Linked DNA regions of Homo sapiens: region 1 is linked to region 2. Evidence: promoter capture Hi-C in human tissues and cell types (Jung and others, 2019). All regions are on one chromosome and are shown on one strand. The core of a region is centred on a gene start or on the middle of the fragment in contact, and the rest is flanking DNA. Distances in the headings are between cores, read along the strand shown. Region 1 overlaps LOC105374235 (a long non-coding RNA gene). Region 2 holds the start of TBL1XR1 (TBL1X/Y related 1).

Region 1 (7,127 bases), core at 282-2,781, 1.1 Mb after region 2:
ATACAAAATATATGCAAATAGAGGAAGAATTCCCCAAATGTCAGAGATTCAGTCGGCATCACAGAAGTAGTAAACCTCAAAGATAATTAGTTTGCTTTCAAAACTTAGCATTGACCAGCAATCCTCTACCCCAACCACCAGTTGTCATAGAAAAAACCTAGCACATTTCATAATAAAATAGTTCTTTTGAGGCATGTTTATTATATAATGGAATCTCTACAAATATGATGGTTTAGAATTGTGTTCTCATAAAATAAAATAGGACAAGAAATAAAGAACTGCAGTATTTCAACAACCCAAGTTAATGGCCCAGACTCCTTTTATTACTACACATACAGAGAATCATCACTCTGTGAGTGCTGTGGAAAGAGAACCTCAGGAGATCTGATGCCAAAACAGGTCAGGTGGCCAATGTTTCAGCTTCAATGTAGAGAGGGTCTAATAATACAAGTTATTTAGCACTCAGTGTGTCCAAAAGCTCTTTACAACACTAAATAATCCATCATCTCCAAACTCCCTGCGAGATCGGTAAGAATTATCATTCAGTCTTTACAGATGGAATATTTGAAATGTAAAATAGCATATACAAGGCCAGACAGGAACTCAGCACCATGATTAAATAAAAACTCTGAGTTCCCAACATCCAAGCCTTGGCAAAGGAATTTGTCACATTGCCTTTTTATATATAGAGCACGGAAACCCAGGGGGGATGCATAAGAAAGAACTCTGAATTTTAAAGCAATATGGAAATATTTAATTCAGGCTGAAGTTAATAGGTAATCAGCTCAATTCCTCCCCCTCTTGCCTGTGAGTAGCTAGCTGTCAGACTGGCAATTTAGGTGACTTGGAAAAACCTACACAAGCTGAATACTGACAGAGGTGGGAACGAGAAAAATTAAGGGACAACGAAGACTTACATGCTGTCATCTATGCCTTCAGGGAACTTAAAAAAGAAGTATTAGCCCTAGCAATGCATTCACCTATTTGGGTTATTCTCTACACAGAATAGAGTTTCATGACCCATGGCAGAATTTTATAACCGATTTAAGGAAGTTGTTCATCCCAAGAGGTCTTCTTTGCTTTGGGCTCCTTGATTCACATTTCTTGTAGCATGTGCTTACATCATCCTGGCTCGATTTAATAACCAATCAATGAAAAACTAGGCATGTCCCACAGATCAGCACTAGCAAGGATTTGCATCTTGCCTGCTTCACAGAAGTCAAAGTTCAGTTTATAAATTCATCATATAGGAATCTGAGTCCTGACAGCCAAGACAGAGTATAACCCCAGGAAGTAATTTATCTCCCCATCCCCACAGAGATGCTGTAGCTTCAATAACTGATAACAGAGCTGTGGGATAAGCAAGGCATTGGTCATAAATGGAATGTTCTAGTCTGGTGTTCCTCATTTAGGTGCTTTTTGACCTTTGGTGGCTTCTGACATCATGAAATGAGATACAGTCGCTACCTGCTAAGGGACAGAGTGAAGAGGGATGAGAGGAAGTCTCAGTGATTCTCTGCTCAGGTGATTTGCAATACCAGAAGCCAGAAACTGAACTTTCCCAGGAATCTCTCTCTCACCTGCCTGTTTGCTTGATACACCATTACAGCTGCTCCATTACAGTTGCTCAAGAAGAAATGGCTGAAATGGAGCTGTTGCCTCTAGCTGACCAGAATTGGAATGCTCATGTGACCATCTGACCTTTTCTGACAGATAAGACACAGTAATAAAAATAAGAATATGCTTCTCATGTCTGAGTGCGATATAATTTGCATAGCATTTTCAGACACATTTCTGAAGGAGATCCTCCCTGTAGCCCTGGGTGGGAATTGGAATTCGGATGAGGTTTTTCTTTTCCATTTATTTATTTTATTTTATTTTTAGATGACAGAACTTAAGCCCATTGTGCTTCTGCGATTTTCCCAGATTAACACAGGTATTAAGTGGTTGAGTCATTTCCAAGCATTTTTGCACAATTAGCTATTTGTCCTGTCCCTGTCTCCCTGTCCCCAAACCAAAGCAACTTATGTTTATTCAAATGAGGTAGAGATCTAGATGACCTTCCAGGACCCTTCCAATGACACGTATCAGTCACCATATTAATAGCAATATATCTCTCAGAACTAGCCCAAGGATTTAGTAGATTTCCAGATTACTTTGGAAGGAGCAATAATTATAGTCTTTTAGTTGGAACCAGAGAATCACACTCCAAGAAGATTATAAATGGTCATAACTTATATATTTATTTCACTCTGTTGTGCCAAGAGCTAGCAGCTTACAATCCAATAGGGAAGATAGATATTAAATGAAGAAGTACACAATGCCTTAATTCCTACAGTGCTATTTAAAGGATGACAATACTCCCCTGGATACCAGCTAATATATGTCAAACTTCTTATCAATAAACAAATCACAGATTGTTAAGAGAAAATCATGGCAGAAAATAAAGCCAGTTTTGTAGATCATGATTTTCTCTATTGTGGAGTTGATAGAAAAAAAAAAGAGAGTCTGTAAACTACAGAAAAAAAAATATAGCTGAAAAAGTAACCCTGTGGTCTTCTTGCTAGTCACCACTTAAGGAAGTAGAGATTTTTCCAGACCCTTCTGTCACTCTGGGCAGGTGACTGACTTATAACTCAGGTGTGCATTTGCCTGCTTAAATCTGCCTCAGTTCCAAACAGCTTGCCATGCTCTATATATAGAGATGACTTCACCCTCTGTTGGAATGCAGCAGCTGTTCAGCAGTGCACACTGATATGCTTCAGAGACTTAGGCCATATCTAATTGAGCACTTCAATACTGCAGAGATAGGCGCCTTGGAAATATTTAGATAAAATACCTTTGGCCAGATGGAAGCCGGCCAGGATACCAGCATAAAATCTTCATCTCACAGGACTGCTAGTGAGCCTTGGCGGGGGGCTCCATGGAGGGAGGTGGCATCAGGAGAGATGCCAGTCTGTCCTATCCACCCCCTGCACTGTAAACATGACACAAAGAATAGTAGGAAATAGGAGAAATCAGAATTTTGTTGCTTCCTCCTTCTCCCCTTGGCAGACCAAACACAGCCTACCCTCTGTGAAAACAATCTGAATGTTAATGGTGCCTCCATGTCAGGAAGCTTCCCAGTTGTAATATTCCCCCACAGGACTGTCCCTTCCCCTAGAGGCCAGATTGCCAGCCCTGGAAATTGGTTGGCAGGTATAGAATCAATGGTACTTTTTAAACATTTATTTGCCTAGGATTCATTGCTAATCTTGCTAGGAGAAGCAACCAGCTATCACAGTTGGCTGGGAACTGGCCAGAAAGCACTTCTGGCTTTGCTACCCATGGTCCACATGACTCCAGCAAGCCTGTGTTGTGCTGGATCTCACTTTTCCCATCTGTAAACTTTAGAGATTGGCAGATTTAACTTCAATTTCTCTTCCAGCTCTAAAAGAACCTGTGTGTGTCTTTCACGACACAACTCCCTCTCCCATTCTTTTTTCTTAGAAGAAAAAGAAAAAAAAAGAAAAAACATTAGCAGATGATAATGAAAACATCTTGCATTTGCATGTAATCTATTGTTTAGATAAATATATCCACCTTTAAGCCAAAGTAAGTGCTATTATTTTCATTTAGAAGAATCAACAGAAACACAGAGAAAATGAGTGGTTTGCCCAAATCAAGCAATTAGAAAGTACATTTGAACTGGGTCTCTGTCTTATCAATGATGAAGGGATCATTTACACAGTAATGCAATTGCCTATCTGGATGTGTCATTTATATGGACTCAGAAAAAATATCGAGGTTAGGAATAATAAGTATCTAGCTTTGGGTCTTATCTATGCTTGGATTTAGGGGTTTGGAAATAAAACACACAGTCTGGCCCTCCAGGTTCACAGTGCAGTAGGGGCACTGGCCTAGTTAACCAATGCTTGCCTGCCATACAATGTGGTAAAACACTGAATAGGACATCAAATTTATACTTGGAGCTTTAGAGGGCTGAAGTCAGGGGAGGCTTTGCAGAAATGTGTATGTGCTACCCAGGCAGAAAAGGATAGTGGAGCAGGGGGCAGACAGTGAAGAAAGTGCTAGGGAGGTTCTACAAACAAATAGTGTGTGAGTGACTGGAGTTTAGAATGCTTGTCATAAATACTGGGCCTTTCACATAGCAAGATACACAACAATCGAATATTTGAACATCCAGGTGGAAAAGTTTATTGGCAGCTGGATATGAGAGTCTGACGCTCAGGGTTGAGGATGAGGTGTAAATACAAAAGCCATTGAGCCTCAATTTTTTATTGCATTTTTCTCTCTCCATTTCGAATATTTTAGTTTCTCTGAAGTGACTGAAAACACAGCAGTGCAAATGACAACCATTTCTAGACAGAGTCACTAGGGTGTCTGCAGTTTGAAGAAAGAAAGCTTTGTGAAATGTTGTATCTTTGAGCTAGGAGTTTGTCTATCTGCAATTATTGCTTTAAGGACATAAGTATAAGTTAGACAATTATGATCTAGAGGAAGGAGGATAGGGAAGAGAGTAAGAAACAAGGGAAACAAAGTTAAGGTGGAGCAAAGCCCACCTAGTGAGTGCTCAATAAGTTTTACAGAAATGCAGAAGTGAATGTAATCGTTTGTTCCTAATAAGTAGTGCCCAACAAGTTTCACAGAAGCTCAGAAGAGACTCAGGGGTCAGGTGTTGCTGTTCCATTGTTTTTAAATGAAGTGTTTGCTCAAGGTACTTCTAGAAATTTATTTTTAAGGCTTAACACTATCAGAAAACATTTCAAAAAGTGGTAAAAATTACAATTACTTTTTTAAATATAAGAAAAAACCTTTCAAAGTAGAGAAAATATTACGGTTGACCATTCCACTGCTCTAAACCAAAAATGAAGTTATAAAGCTTCTCAGTAACCTGTGTTTCACATCCCACACATCACCCAGTAAACTATTTTCTGAAGAAACAGGAGAATATTACAGAATAAAAAACCTTAGAAATGTGAAATAACTATGTGTGAATGTTGAGGGACACTCAGAAGAGCAAAACCCAGTGGATGTTAAAGAAAACATAATGGGTTTAATTATATTTAAAAGGCCTATTCTATTGCTATATACACTAGAGGAGCGTGAATATTTATTCTCTCCACTAGATATTACCATAATTTTAGGTAAGACAAAAATAACTCAGATATGGATTTTTCTATTATTGGAAATATATTGTGTTGGCATATCCTCACGTATTATCTTTAAATCCTCACCAAACACTGTGTAGTGGATATTATCAGTTCCATTTTAAAGTCCAGGAAAAACTCAGAAAGGTGAATTGTTTTATCAAAGTCCTAGCATATGTTAGAGTCCAGATTTGATTCCAGGCCACTGACTCAATATCCACCTGGTTACTGCCTACTTGTGTACAACCTGCAAGCCTATGAATTATGAATTCTTTTTCTATACAGTTAAAGAATTCAAAAGAGGAATAAATTTTGCAACATATTGAAATTATATAAAATTCAAATTTCGGTGTTCATAAATAAAGTTTTTTAGAACACAGCTACTCTCATTTTTTATATATTGTCAATACCTGCTTTTGCACAAGGGCAGAGTTGAGTAGTTGTGACAGATAACAAACAATACACAAAAGAAACAATGTAAATAACCATTTCAAGGCTCAACCAAATGTAAGGCTCAATAAATGCAACATTGTTAGTCTTTTATTTTTCAAGAAAATACTTGGACTATCATGATAATGACAAAAAAGAGATTCCACACCCAAAACTTAGTCATATGTTGTTATAGGAGGTAAGTACCTCCCAAAAGACCCATAGACAAAAATATAGCTTTTTTTTTTTTTTTTTTTGAGACGGAGTCTCGCTCTGTCACCCAAGCTGGAGTGCAGTGGGTGATCTCTGCTCACTGCAACCTCCACTCCCAGGTTCAAGCGATTGTCCTGCCTCAGCCTCCTGAGTAGCTGCGATTACAGGCACCCACCACCACGCCCGGCTAATTTTTGTACTTTTAGTAGAGATGGGGTTTCATTATGTTGGTCAGGCTGGTCTCGAACCCCTGATCTCGTGATCTGCCTGCCTTGGCTTCCCAAAGTGCTGGGATTACAGGTGTGAGCCACCACGCCCTGCCAAAAATACAGCATTTCTTATATTAAGAGAGTAGACTAGACTGATTCACTATAGCTATATTTTATGACATTATACCAATCAAACATTCAGAGTCTTAATTTCTCCAAGAAAAAAACTGTGATGCCTGGTCCAAACTTGAATAAGCACACGGAAACATAAAGACTCAGATTAGTTGCAAACATTAAAATCTTAGAACTCTTTTTATTTACTGCTATATATATATAAAATATATTAGTTTTACAAACATTTATAATTTTATGCTCAAGTATTGCTTTAGGCAAGGTGCCAGTTTATGGAATGCCTGCTGTCCCATGCTAAGGAGTTTGGTTTTATCTGATGGTGATGGGGAGCTACTGAAGACTTTCAAATATAAGATCAATATGTGGGTTATCATAAATAAAGTGTCAGGTGATGAACAGTAGTCCAAGAAGACTACCAGTGTATAGACAGAAGGAGAATAAAATGACACCAAAGAAAGGGGATTAGGAAGTTCAAGATAAATGATTTAATTGCCGTGGCAAGTGCAACGAAAAGTCCTATAAATCAAGGATTTAAAAATATCCATGGATTGGTCATTTAGAAGGTTATCGGTGACTCAGCAAGGCAAGGTTCAGAGGAGTGGTAAGGCCAAACATTAGACTGAAATAAACTGAAGAGTGAATTAGAAGAAATTATAGACTGTTCTTGTCAGAGATTTGGAGGAACAGAGCAGAGAGATCGAACAGTTGCTTAATCAAGACGCAAACACAGTATTTGTTTGTTTGTTTGTTTCTTTTCCCTTTTTGGGGTAAGAAATGTTCAAACATGTTTATTGGCTGAGGAGAATGAACGGGTGGGGAGGTGAGGGTGGATTGGCTGAGGAGAATGAACAGGGGTGGGGAGGTGAGAGTGGGGGAAAATGAAAGATATTAGTTGAAGAAGCAGAATATCTAATGGAGCAAATCTTGGCAGGAGTGAGAGGAGATGTGGCCTCAGACATGGTCAGGGTTTGGATTTAAACAAAAAGTGAGGCAT
Region 2 (6,554 bases), core at 3,000-5,499:
GGATAGAGCCTGAGTTTGAACTCACTTTAACCACTATGCTACAACACAAAGACTTCAATGATTTTTCTTACACAAATTTTTTGTTTGTTTGTTTTTGAGAGGGTGTCTCCCTCTATCGCCCAGGCTGGAGTGCAATGGCGCGATCTTGGCTCACTGCAACCTCCACCTCCTGGGTTCAAGCGATTCTCCCACCTCAGCCTCCCGAGTAGCTGGGACTACAGGTACCCGCCACCACGCCCAGCTAATTTGTGTATTTTTAGTAGAGACGGGGATTCACCATGCTGGCCAAGATGGTCTCAATCTCTTGACCTCGTGATCCGCCCGCCTTGGCCTTCCAAAGTGCTTGGATTACAGGCGTGAGCCACTGCACCCAGCAAGACTGCATCTTATTAAATGGTGCTAGGGAATTCAGCACAATGATATGAGTTCTATCAATTTCATTTACCCATGTAATCACTCGACCCATTTAGTACAGACGCTCAACTATAGATCATAAACTTGATTAGAAACACAAGTTTTTGGAAGGATGATCTACACGGATCAAGACTAACAAAACAGCTGGGAAAATTCCGCAGATTCAGTCATCTAAGACAGACCCAGGTTTGAATCCTAGTGTTCATTTAATAATTTTGTGGCCTTGAACAAGGGAATTAACTTCTTTGCATCTCTGTTTCATCATCCACAAAAAAAGCCCAACACTATCTACCTCATAGGATTAGCCTAGGGTATAAACAGCATAGAAAGCACCTCACACCTCCTAGAGCATAGCCCGGAGCACCTAGTCCCTCTCCTCTGGCTCTATGGTTACAGGGCAATTAATTGCACTCTTACCGAATCCAATCCCAGAGGGGTAAACAGCCAAATCTCTCCAGCATCAGCGCTCTCAGAGTCTTTTCTTTTTAACTTCAAGTTTCTATTGGTGGCAGAGCAGGAGATACCACCTTCGTGGTACCTAAACTGAACGATACTCAACAATTCTTTACTACACAGCTCTAGGGTCCTAGCCCTCCTCTACTACCAGAATGTCTGAGCATAAAGTATAAATGTCTCGTGTTAGCTGCTTTCCTTTTTTGCATTTCAGTGACTTATACTGTAAATGTTATTTGTGAAATGAGTCCAATTCACATGCACTAGAAAAATACAAGTTCTAGTGAATACCAATGTTTCTGCCATGCCTCTCCCCTGACTTCCTACCATTCACATTCTTCTTTATTCTTTTTATATAAATGACACCAAAAATTGAACAAACCCAACAAATTATTTCAACCAACTTCATCAAAATGTGTCAAGTCAGGAATTCTTTATAATAGTACTGCTACAAGTTGTACTAGGGAGATTCCTTTGTCAGCTACTCGTCTGACAAGGTTGTATATATACTGCACTGATAGATTTAATCAACAAGTTGATGTTCAAAAGGTCTATTAATACATTTCCTTTTATCAGTACCCCTTATATTTATATTACCTTCTGTTAGCTTGAAAGGCTCCTAGAACACAGGAAGCAGTTACCTCTAATTCTTTCGGGAGACTGGTGTCATGGTAATCATGCAAAACCTTTAATTAGGTGTCGAGAATACAAATATCAAAAAGATTCTTAGACATACGTATTAAAATGCTTAACACTTCTTTGAAGCAACCAATGCAAAAATATCATCTCTGCAAGGGGTCACTCCATTTACCACCAGTGTCTCCCACATTAATACCCAAAGCTGGTATACGTTAAAAGAAAAATGTCATAAACTGACGGTGAGCTTTGCAACAATTTTTATGCCATTAACATGTCACTTTATTAAGTTCCTTAGCAATAAGAAAAACTTTTCCCAGGCACGTAGTTTTCGTCCCCCATACAGTTTAGTATTTTGTCCTGTAGGTCGGATTCCAACAACTCAAACGTCAAAAAAAATAGTAGTTATTTATGAATTTAATGATTGCGATTACATACATCTCAGTGCAGGATAGGGTTGAAAAAAAAAATCATATTCCAAACAAGAAAACCTGGATTTAAGAGCAAGAAGCCTAATCACACATCACACGCCTAACTGCTCTCAGGCATACTTTCTTCCTGCAGCCCCTCCCCCACAGGTAAATGCTAACTATTTCTAGAACTCTCAACTATTTGGGAAGCTTGCCATCAACTCCCATGATACCACCCAACCCACACCATGTTTTCGGGGAGACAAAGGTGCCCTACTTCCCCAGACTATAAACTATTAAAATGGTGAGAACATACAATCCCAGGAAGTCGGCATTACTAAAATACATCAATGTAGCATGGGTCTTATTTTAACAAAAATGAAAATGAATCACACTGGAAAACCCAAACAGTCACTCATTGTATCTTCAACGTGTAATCGAAATTATTTATTCCAAGTTATTTCAGGTAAGTAGATGAACACACCACGAGGGCCTTATTATCCAAACTGGTGAAGAAGCCTTTAGGAAAAACGGAGGGGGAAGATCACTTAATTATATGAGGTGGGGGGTAGAGCAACCATTCAGTCTTAAAATTCAAACTAAAAATAACCTGGCATTTTCACCCCCCACATTTTATTAACAAGCTTGTTTAGATCAGCATACGGTTCCTGTTTGGAAAACAAGAAAGTGAATAGTAAACTTTCCTAAGTCAACTGTAAATCACATAGGTACTAAAACTCTTCACCCCTGGTGCCTGCACAGTCCAAGATTTCAAGTAAACTCCAGACACTGAGAACACCTAATTTTTAACTAGTTTCCAACATTTCTCATTTGTAATCACCAAATTATCTTAGAGACACTTAGATAACCTAACAAAGAGAGCATTTTTTAAAAGCCACAACCCAAATTTTACATGAAATACACCATTTTCACAACCTAAATTTAATCCCGGTTGCCACTGCGAAGTGATGCCTGTTTCAGCAAATTAAGAACTTCCAAAAATACTGAACACGTTAACACATGCATGGCTTCCCTCGAGCTGCCATTTAAGATTAATATTCCACTTAAATAAAAGTCTGCTTCTGTTCAAAAAATTAAATCGGTTGCAAAGAGGAAGTTACCGAGAAACCACCCTCACAACGTGGCCTTTACACTGTCAGAAAATAACGTGACTCTGTGCCACCCAAAACTTACCAGGAAGCTGGCAATAACTTTGCCAATTCTACACTCCTGAACCCAACTTCAAAGAGCCTCCACCAAATACCTCCTTAAGACGATAAAAAGCACTAAGTTACAAATAAACACGTCCCGGAGCAAGGCCCGGCTGCCGCGCGCCCCTCCCCCGGCCGGCGCCCCCGCCCCGGACGCGCGGCCCCAACAGCCGCCCGCAGCCCCCAGCACGCCGGCCGGGGTCGCCGCGCCCGGGCCGGGGACGCGCCCGGGGAGGGGAGATTTCCATTGCCGCCCGAGGTTTCACAAAATAGCATGCACCGAAAAGCTCCTTCTCCTCTGCTAAAAATAGGCTATAAAGGAGTCGGCCTCATGATGGCTCCTTGATTCAATTTGCTGCAAATCCTTTCCTGAAAGCCTCCCCCCCCAAACACACACGCACAAAAAGGGGGTGTAAATGCACGAAGGGAGGAAGAGGGGGAGAAGGCCGAGGTGCACATTTTCGGGGACAACATAATTAGGGTGAGGATCCCCCGAGACCGGGAAAGGGTAGGGGGGTGGGCAGGCACGTGAGCATTTCAAAGAAACCTGAGAGAGGAAAACGGGGGGATGGGGGCGCCCCAAGTGCCCTCCCTGCCTTCCCTTCCCCCACGCAAGCCCAGTTCCCCCAAGGGCCAAGTTGAAAAATGCATGTTCCACTCGCGCCCATCCCCCCGCGGCCCAGCGCCCCCGGCCGCCTCTGGCCCGCGCCCCCCGCCCAGGCCCCCGGCCGCCCCCACTCCAGGGTCCGGCCCCCAGCGCTTACCTGGAAACGGTGGCCTCCAACGCCGCTCCCCCCTCCCGGGAATGGAGGCACAAGGAAATTCCCCTCCTCGCCGCCGCCGCCACCGCCTCCAACCACCCCCAAAATAACCCCTCCGGGGGGTGAGAGGCAATTATAACCCCAGCGAGCGGAGGGCGCGGGGGATGGGCGCCGGGCGGGCGGGGGCGGGGAGCGCGGCGCGGGTCCCCAGGTGGCGAGCGGAGGTGCTCCCGCCGCGGGGGGAGGGGCGGGGGCGCACGCGGCCGGCGGCGGGGGGAGGCGGCGCGCGGGGGAAGGGCGCGAGCGGGGAGAGGAATTGAGGCAGAAGGTAAAAGCTGTTACTAAGGGAAAGAGCCAAACGGTTCGGAGCAGCCAACGGCTCAGACACTCAACACTGGGGAGAGAGGAATGGGGACCAGCCAGGCACAAATGAGCTCGCGAGGCCCGCGGCGGCGGCGGCGGCGGCGGCCGCGCAGCAAAACAAACCCGAGCGGCCTGCGCCGGGCGGGCGGGCGAGCGGGCGGGCGGGCGCGCGGGGGAGGGGCCGGCGGGGGAGGGGCGCCGCGGACGCCGGGAGGCGGCGGCGGCGCGGCGGGGGGGCTCCAGCGGCCGCGCTCCTCTCCTTCCCGGCCCGCTCTGGCGGCACTGGGGGCTGGGCTGTGCGGCGCATTCTTTTAAAAATCAGGCGAGCCCCGCGGGCACTCGAAGGCGCCTCGGGGCCCCGGGCCGCCCGCCCCGCCCCCACCGCCGCGGGCCGGCCTGGGTGTGCTCGGGTGTGGGCCGCTGGGCCCGAGACGGGTGGGGGCGGGGAGGCCCGCGCGGTGGCCGGGGTGGAGCCGCCGGCGAAGTTTCCCCAAGGACGCCGCGGGCTCCCGCGTGTCCGGGGGGCGGCCCGGCGGCGTTGGGGGCTGGGCGCACACGCGGCGGGCATGTGGGGGAGTGCGGCGCGGCATCATATGGACATTTGTTTGTGAAAATCTCTGTGAACACCTTTGTGTGCGTAAATACATATGGTTCTCCGAAGCGTACCTGGAAAGGTGCTTTATCTGTAATAAGCGACTTTCAAAATGTGATCCAGAGCACGGGATCTGGAGAGAAAACACGCACACAAGAAAAGGTTTTTGATACTAAACACAAAGCTGTAATTGAAGTATTTATGCCCAAATGTACTGTGAATCAAGCATATGGTGGTATTTATCATCTGGTGGGTCTGTTTGAAAGGTTTGCTCGATCAGTTCTTATTTCACAAAAATAAAATAATGTAACTAAATGTTTACTAAATATATACCTGCACAGTGGCATCCACAGTAGAAGTTTATCCACTTTGTGTACTTTTTGCATGTGTGAAGCACAGCAAGGCGGTTTATAAAGTATAACTTAGATGAGTGATAATGTGGCAGTATGGTTGAGGGAGGGTTGTTTTTAAAGAAGGGAGGCACCTCACAGGTTTTAAAGCAAATGGGGTGGTAATCTTTCTAAGACTTTCAGAAAGATGGGGTAGGGTGCTTTTTAGAGCTTTGTATAAGCTCAGGACTGGAGAAGCAGCCACCCTTTTACATTAAGATACGACTTGAAACCTTTTTGTTATTTCGCTTATTACTGCCTTCAAAGCAAAATAATGTTTGCAGCTTTCTTAAAGGTGAAGGGTTCTGTTTTCCTACTTTCATCAGAATATTTGAAAATAGATGTAGTGATCACTTTAAAGCAACCATCATTTCCTCTCAATATCAGAAACCTGAAGTTTTGCGACACACACACACACACACACACACACACACACACACACACACTACTCGTAACTTGCACCAGTCTGGACTCCTGGTGGCCTAATAAGTTCAGTAATTAGACAGGTGCTTTCTTGGCCAAGGTCAATGTCTCTTTCCCCCCTGAGCCCTTGCTTGGGGGAGCTGCCAGAGGCCTTTCCTGAATGACCTAGTGGGGCAGGGAGCAGGAAAACCATCAGAGGAAAGGGAGTGGGATTGGAAACTCCCTTCCAACCACCAGAGAGTTCAAAGCATATTAGTGGTGTGTCCTTAGAGCTATTTTCATGTATGAAAGTGGGAATGTTGGATTAAACAATGTCACCCGATGGGAATTTAGATAACTGCAGGTTTCCAAAACACTATGCAGAGTGTACAGGGAAACCGCACAAAGCAAGTTTTGCATTTCAATAGGATTCTAAAGCTGAGGCTTGTTTACCTCAGAACTAACACCTTTCAGAAGACTTTATTTCAGAATTGAAAAGAGTATATAGTATCTTCCTTTTTTTTTTTTTGAGTTGATAAATGACGTAGATATCACTAAACATACCCTGTCTTCAGTAAGTAAACTATCTCGGTGGAGCCACTCAATGAAACATATCTATTGGCTTAGATTATTTTTTAAGTTTCATATTGTGCCACCACGGGCGGGTCCTCTCCATACAGCAGTGACTGTAAAATCAAACCCCACTTTCAGTGAGTGAGGACTTCTCAACCATACCATTCTTAAAGCGTCATATTCAAAGCTGCCCACCCCACCCCTTCTCCTTCCCCTAAATGACTTCTATCCCTTATTCCACAAGGGAGGAGACACCCTCCTTCAGGTTCATAGGATCAGGTCTTCCAGCCTGAAGTTCTTATACCCTACACCAAGCTGCCTCCTAAAGTTGTTCAGTGTTAGTTGAGCCT

Evidence for each region. The method cuts DNA at HindIII sites, captures the fragments that hold promoters and counts their contacts. A contact is called where the count stands out against the background at its distance.
Region 1: a contact is called between a fragment that was not itself captured here and the fragment with the promoter of TBL1XR1 in region 2, in 1 of the 25 tissues and cell types used here (dorsolateral prefrontal cortex).

Annotation. Positions count from the first base shown.
Region 1 is chr3:178,317,843-178,324,969 of GRCh38, forward strand. All of the region lies in intron 2 of LOC105374235 (a long non-coding RNA gene), which reads right to left. Among named protein-coding and RNA genes, the nearest start is that of LINC01014, 98 kb to the right of the region's middle. RefSeq lists a silencer at 2,125-2,325. The HindIII fragment of the contact is 4,460 bases long and covers 1-3,761 here.
Region 2 is chr3:177,193,233-177,199,786 of GRCh38, forward strand. TBL1XR1 (TBL1X/Y related 1) reads right to left here and starts at 4,250. Exons shown (of 16, transcript NM_024665.7): 1 at 3,889-4,250. RefSeq lists enhancers at 468-1,058, 3,827-4,336, 4,337-4,844 and silencers at 3,292-3,341, 3,822-3,921, 4,032-4,221, 4,462-4,841. The HindIII fragment of the contact is 7,362 bases long and covers 2,341-6,554 here.